2 separate regions of the Homo sapiens genome follow, and region 1 is linked to region 2. Evidence: promoter capture Hi-C in 16 types of primary human blood cells and fetal thymus (Javierre and others, 2016). All regions are on one chromosome and are shown on one strand. Each heading gives the region's core, a stretch centred on a gene start or on the middle of the fragment in contact. The rest is flanking DNA. Distances are from core to core; before and after follow the strand shown.

What was found. The method cuts DNA at HindIII sites, captures the fragments that hold promoters and counts their contacts. A CHiCAGO score of 5 or more calls a contact.
Region 1: a contact is called between a fragment that was not itself captured here and the fragment with the promoter of RAB6B in region 2, in 4 of 17 cell types (naive B cells, M0 macrophages, non-activated CD4 T cells and 1 more). The highest score is 11.3, in naive B cells.

The regions. Positions count from the first base shown.
Region 1 is chr3:132,731,814-132,734,513 of GRCh38, forward strand. It overlaps NPHP3-AS1 (NPHP3 antisense RNA 1), which reads left to right. Exons shown (of 11, transcript NR_002811.2): 3 at 1,511-1,631. Among named protein-coding and RNA genes, the nearest start is that of NPHP3-ACAD11, 11 kb to the left of the region's middle. The HindIII fragment of the contact is 929 bases long and covers 960-1,888 here.
Region 2 is chr3:133,894,632-133,897,331 of GRCh38, forward strand. It overlaps RAB6B (RAB6B, member RAS oncogene family), which reads right to left and starts at 1,251. Exons shown (of 8, transcript NM_016577.4): 1 at 766-1,251. The coding sequence starts at 835. RefSeq lists a silencer at 1,221-1,270. The HindIII fragment of the contact is 7,968 bases long and covers 1-2,700 here.

The DNA.
Region 1 (2,700 bases), core at 174-2,673, 1.2 Mb before region 2:
ACAAAAGGATATTTAAAACCATTCAAACCATTGTACATTAGTTGAAAAATACTTAGAAGGCTCTCTCCCTTTCTTCCCCATGGCTCCTCCTTGTCTACCCCTGTTCTTTCATCTTCTCTCTTATATGAACTCATTCCCTTCTGCTTGTTCCTTGGGCTCCCATACATCTCTTAGGCAGAGATTTTTGGAATTTCACAATGGACTCATTTACTTCTTTCAAGGGAGTTAAAATGTATTTAAATTTAAAACAGAAGGAGCAAATGGAACAACTGCAGAATGAGAATGAAACTACTGAGATTCTAAAAATACAGATCCAACAAGTTTTTTCTAAAGTGGTACTAATGATCAACACATTTTATGGTTTATTGCTAGCTTTGCCAAACCATTTGTGGTCTTCCATATACATTAGTAAAATACATACAGCCACCTCCATTAAAGTGGAAGTAAACCTGATTAAACCTTTTACCAAATATCAGATAATACTCTTTAAATGTGCTGCTAGACCTCACAGTCCCTTGCAGATATAAAACTTCACTGGCCTTTTAGAAAACTTAAATTATGTCTCTGTGCCTTGAGATGTAAATTTACTGTACTCGGTAAGATCTTCAGCCATGGAAGACAGATTAACTTGTTGTATTTACAGAGGCACAATTTAATTCAACTGTTCTTTTAAGCTGGTGAGTTTTACCTGACTCATGAATAAAATTTTAAAAGCAAAGCTATAAAATCTTTATTTGCATCTGTTTGTATTTTTATATGTACATGTACACATGTCTGTATTTGTATATTGTTTACATGGTACCAAATTGGTTTATAAATAAATAAGCACTCATCAATTAGTAAGCCAAAATACTTTGTAAATTCATATCACTTGAATAGATCTTTTAGCATGTAAGACTAGTTTAATAAGAACAACCATCTTCTGAGTTTTTGGCAAAATATCCATAAATTTAACTTTAAGCTTCTTACTTAAGTGAATATCTGATATTCACAGACTATAAACGTGGTTAGCAGTAAAATAACTTGAAATGTTGACTAGCTTTGTCTAATATTTCAGTTTTCATAAATATTCTAGGTAAGCTGTTAAAAATAAATAAATTAGATAACTGTCAATGAGATACACCTCTAGAGGAACTTTTCATGTAATTTGAAATCTTAAAGCTATGTTAAATTAAATAATAGATACTATTAAATGTCTGGGTCATTTCCAATTAAGGTAAACATATTATAAGAAAACATGTTTCTAAAGATTATAAAATGGTTTTCATTTATAAGACACTGATATGTGACAAGCAAAGATTCTTGTTGTCGAGGTTGTCACTAAAATGTAAGGTTACTGAGAGTTAAAAGTTCTAATTAATATTTATATATAATTTTATATATAGAATGTGCCAAAAATAAGATGTGTTTTTGATAAGAAAAAATTATAAGAAGTGTTCTTTATTATAAAAATTATTATAAAAATGTGTTCTTTATTGAGAAAGAAAAAATAATTTTGTCTAATTTGTAGGTTACTTAAAGGTTGTTTCAAAATATGGACTTAGGAAGGAGAAAGAAACAAGATTAAAAAGGAACAAGTAACTAGGAGAGAAAAATATGAAGAAGGTTATGGATATGAAGATGCATTTTTGGTAAGGAAGGTTAAAAAGAAAAGAGAATAATTTTGTATGAGAAAGAATCTCATATGATAAAGTTTTGTCCTAATGTAAAATGACTGGTTATTTAAGAAAGAGGAAATACAGGACAAAGCAGAAAGTCCAAGCGTGTTTTCAATGGTCTGCCTATGTCATGATAAGGTTCGTGAAAAGAGAATTTATGAAAACAATTTTGTGTGTGATTAAGTTGGCTATAATTCTAAAGAAATTATTTCTAAGTTTTCTAAAGATTAAGCTTTGACATTGAAAATATGCTAGAACAAAACTAAAAAAATGTGGTCCCCTGTATTATAACAAGGTTTTTGTAAAGTATTCATTTTCTTTTAATAAAATTGCAAAAGATTTTTATTTTAAAATTCTAAAATCCATTTCTTTTTGAAACTTCCTTTTATCAAGATAATTTCTGTGTTGTCCTTACTTGGTTTTGGTTTCTTTAAAAGGATTAAGGGTTTTACATCCATGTAACTTTCTTTATTGCTTTTGAAGTCTTTTGATTACCACTCTGGTTAAATGAATAAGTATTAATTAACAGTGACTGGCGATTCTGTTTTCATCAAATGCTTGGAACTTTTGACATCTTTGACAAACTTCCCCCAAATCAACTCCTAAAGTAGGCTGTTTCCCCTAAAATTAACTTTAGGGTTTTCTAGTTAGACCTCTGGAGAACCTCAAAGAATATGTCTTGTAGAGATATTAAATTATTAGGCTTATTTGGTAAATTGTATGAGAAACATTGTCAAATGATAAATGGTACTAGATCTTCTTTCAGTTATATTTATGGGCATGTTATTGATATAAATATCCCCAGAATTATATAAATTTATAAAAATCTAATGTTATGAGTCATAATTTTGACTATATTAAATCTTTTCCAAAGTTATATTTGTATGGATGTATTATTAATAGGAATATTGTAGAGATTACATGAAATTTATAAAAGTCTGGAAATCATGATGTGATGCTGTCAGTCATGATTCTGTTTTTTGTTTTAAAATGCCACATATAATAGAAACAACTAAATTTCTTTGTCTTCCACTAGATTTTA
Region 2 (2,700 bases), core at 1-2,500:
GGTGCCCCTGTATCATTCCCCAAATCGCCTCGAGTTGGGGTAGCCCTCACTGCAATTGCCCAGATCCCTGGGCAGCAAGGAGACTAACAAGCGCCGGCGAAGGGCAGCGGGTCTAGAACCTTCTGTGCCCAGTCGGACGTGAGCCAGGGGAGGTAGGCTCCCCGTTCCCCCATGGCCTGCACTCGCTCTTTCGAGCAGAGACAGGTGTCGCTCTTTTCTCCCCGGTGGCTGTTTGTCCCACGCCCTGGACGTGCCCTTTCGCATGGTTCCCAGCAGGGTCCGCAGGGAACACCCCTCCAGTGCAGCGGAGTGAGGCCCGGCCAGACCCCAGCTTCGCTTCGTTCTCCAAGGGGGGCGCCCGTCGCTCTCCCCACCCCCGCCAGCACCCAGCCACCTGCGCGGTCGCCCGCAGCCGGTGCCGCAGTGTGAGCTAGCCAGCGAGCCCGGTTCCTTCACGCCCTGGCCAGCGCCGCGGAGCCAGCCGCCGCCCTCCGGGCCCCCTGCAGCGCCGCACCTGCACCCACACCCCGGGCCCCCCACCCAGAGCCCACCCTCACCTCCACCCCAGGCTCCAGCGCCTCCTCCGTCCTCACCCTTGGCCCCTCCCCAGCCCGACCCCGCCCCGACCTCCCCATCCCTGTCCCTCTCCTCTACCCTGGCAAGGAGGGGCCTTTCCGAGCCTGGGCCGGGGGTCCCAATGGGGTGGGCGATTGGGCGGCGGGGGTCGACTCGGCGACAAGCCAAGAGATTAAGCCGGGTACTTACCGCTCTGCTCCCCCAAGAACACCAACTTGAATTTTCTCAGTGGATTCCCAAAATCTCCCCCTGCGGACATGGTGCTGGCAGCCGGGGCCGGGAGAGGAGGAGGAGGAAAAAGCGAAGGAGCAGGGAGGGGAGAGTAGGAGGGCGAGGGGAGGCGGCCGGCGGTGCGGGAGCCGGAGGGGGAAGGGCTGGCTGCGCGCGTCCCTGACTCCCCAGCTGCGTCCCGGTCCCGGCCTGCGGCTGCGTGTCCGGCGGCGGAGGAGGAGGAGGAGAGAGAGGCGGAGGCGGAGGAAGGCTGGGGCTGGGCTGCTGCGGTCGGCACTGGCTGCGGTGCGAGGGGCGCGCTCTTTACGCCCGAGGCGCGGCGCTGGGAGAGAGGCGCGGGCGGAGCGGGGCGCAGGGACGGCGCGCGGGGCGGAGGAGCGCTCTCCAGAGCCGCGCCAGTCGGCCCCCTCCCGCCTGCCTCCTCCGCCGGCGCCTGCGCTCTGTGCGCTCCCCAGCCTCTGATGTCATGCGGGGCCCGCGGGGCTGCGGGGCTGGGGGGCGTGCGCCCGCCCACCCGAGCCCGCACCCGGGCAGGAGAGAACCTCCTCGCCGTACCCCTGAGAGCCCCCCGGGGGGGACCGTGTCTCGCTGCCCCGCTGCGTCTGTCTTCCCCACTCTACCCCTCTTTTGAATCCAGAAAATGACAGAAATTGTCAGGGGACATTTGTTTCTGGTCTTTTAAACCTAGATGCCAGTCCCTTCCTCCACCTCGCGAGACACCGATGCACAGCGCAGTCGTCCGACCGACAGGGCGGAAAGGAACGAAGGTGGGGGAGAGCCAGGGTGTGGCGAGGCCCGTCAGGGCGGTCAGACCTAGGGAAACCTGGCGTACTTGGCGCAGATGGGGCTCGACTCTTGCCCCCCGTGGCTTCTAGCCCGCCCTTCCCTCTCGAGGCCTAGACCCTTTATTTGGGCGGCCTCTTGTGGAGTCTGTGGGTGCCCCCGCAGACCTGGCCAGCGAGAGAGGAGCTGCCAATATCAGGCGCGCCTACCTCAAACCAGCTGCTCATTTGGATCATTTTATGCCAAATCCTAACCTGCCCCATGGGAGAGAAGGAACGGTGACGCTCTGAATGCCAGTGCCACTATCTCCAGGACAGTGCCCTGCGTTTCTTGATCCCGGGGTCGCCAGGCTGACAATGCCACTCCCCACCCTGGCAATTAGGTGTATCTGGACAATGAGCTATCTGAGGACATGTGGGCGACCTCTCCTTGGCCTCTACTTGCCTGGTCCATCGAGGCACACAGACCAAGTTGTGAGTGAGTGAGAGCAAAGAGCAGACGCCAAGTGCTAGAAACACTCCCAAGACAGCCCGAGCCTAAGGCATGCTGGTTAATTGAGGTTTTACAAAGCTGTCCCTTACTGTTCTGCCACAGCGTGGTCTTGTTCATTTATGGCTGTTCAGTGAGCATTTATTTGAGATAATAATCTGCATGTCGGTGAACACGATGGTGTGTGCACGCATGTGTTATAGAAAGAGAAAGAGGAGTGAGACACAACCTTCACCTCCAGATTTCTCGTGGACACTTGTTACCCCCTTTTTGACTTATGGGGCTTGCTTGGGCAAGCCTATCTGTCTCCCTGGTGTGCTCACCTCGAATCTCTTTCCTATTTCTTGTTAGAAACCTGACCACAAGTTCCATAAAAGCAGTAGTTGAAGCTCCACCACTGCATCCCAAGGACATAGCTCAGAGTTTAAGAAATAGTTGTTGAATGTTTGAATGAACATCTAGAACTCAAATCAAAATAACTGTCCTATTCTCATAATTACCTTTAGTTTGGAACCCCAGGGATTGTAAGTCATCACCTAGAATATCTGCCCCGTTGTGGCTGGCACCAGGCTCAGGGTAACCCTCCAGACACCCACCCACTTCTCTGGGGCTCCTGCTCTC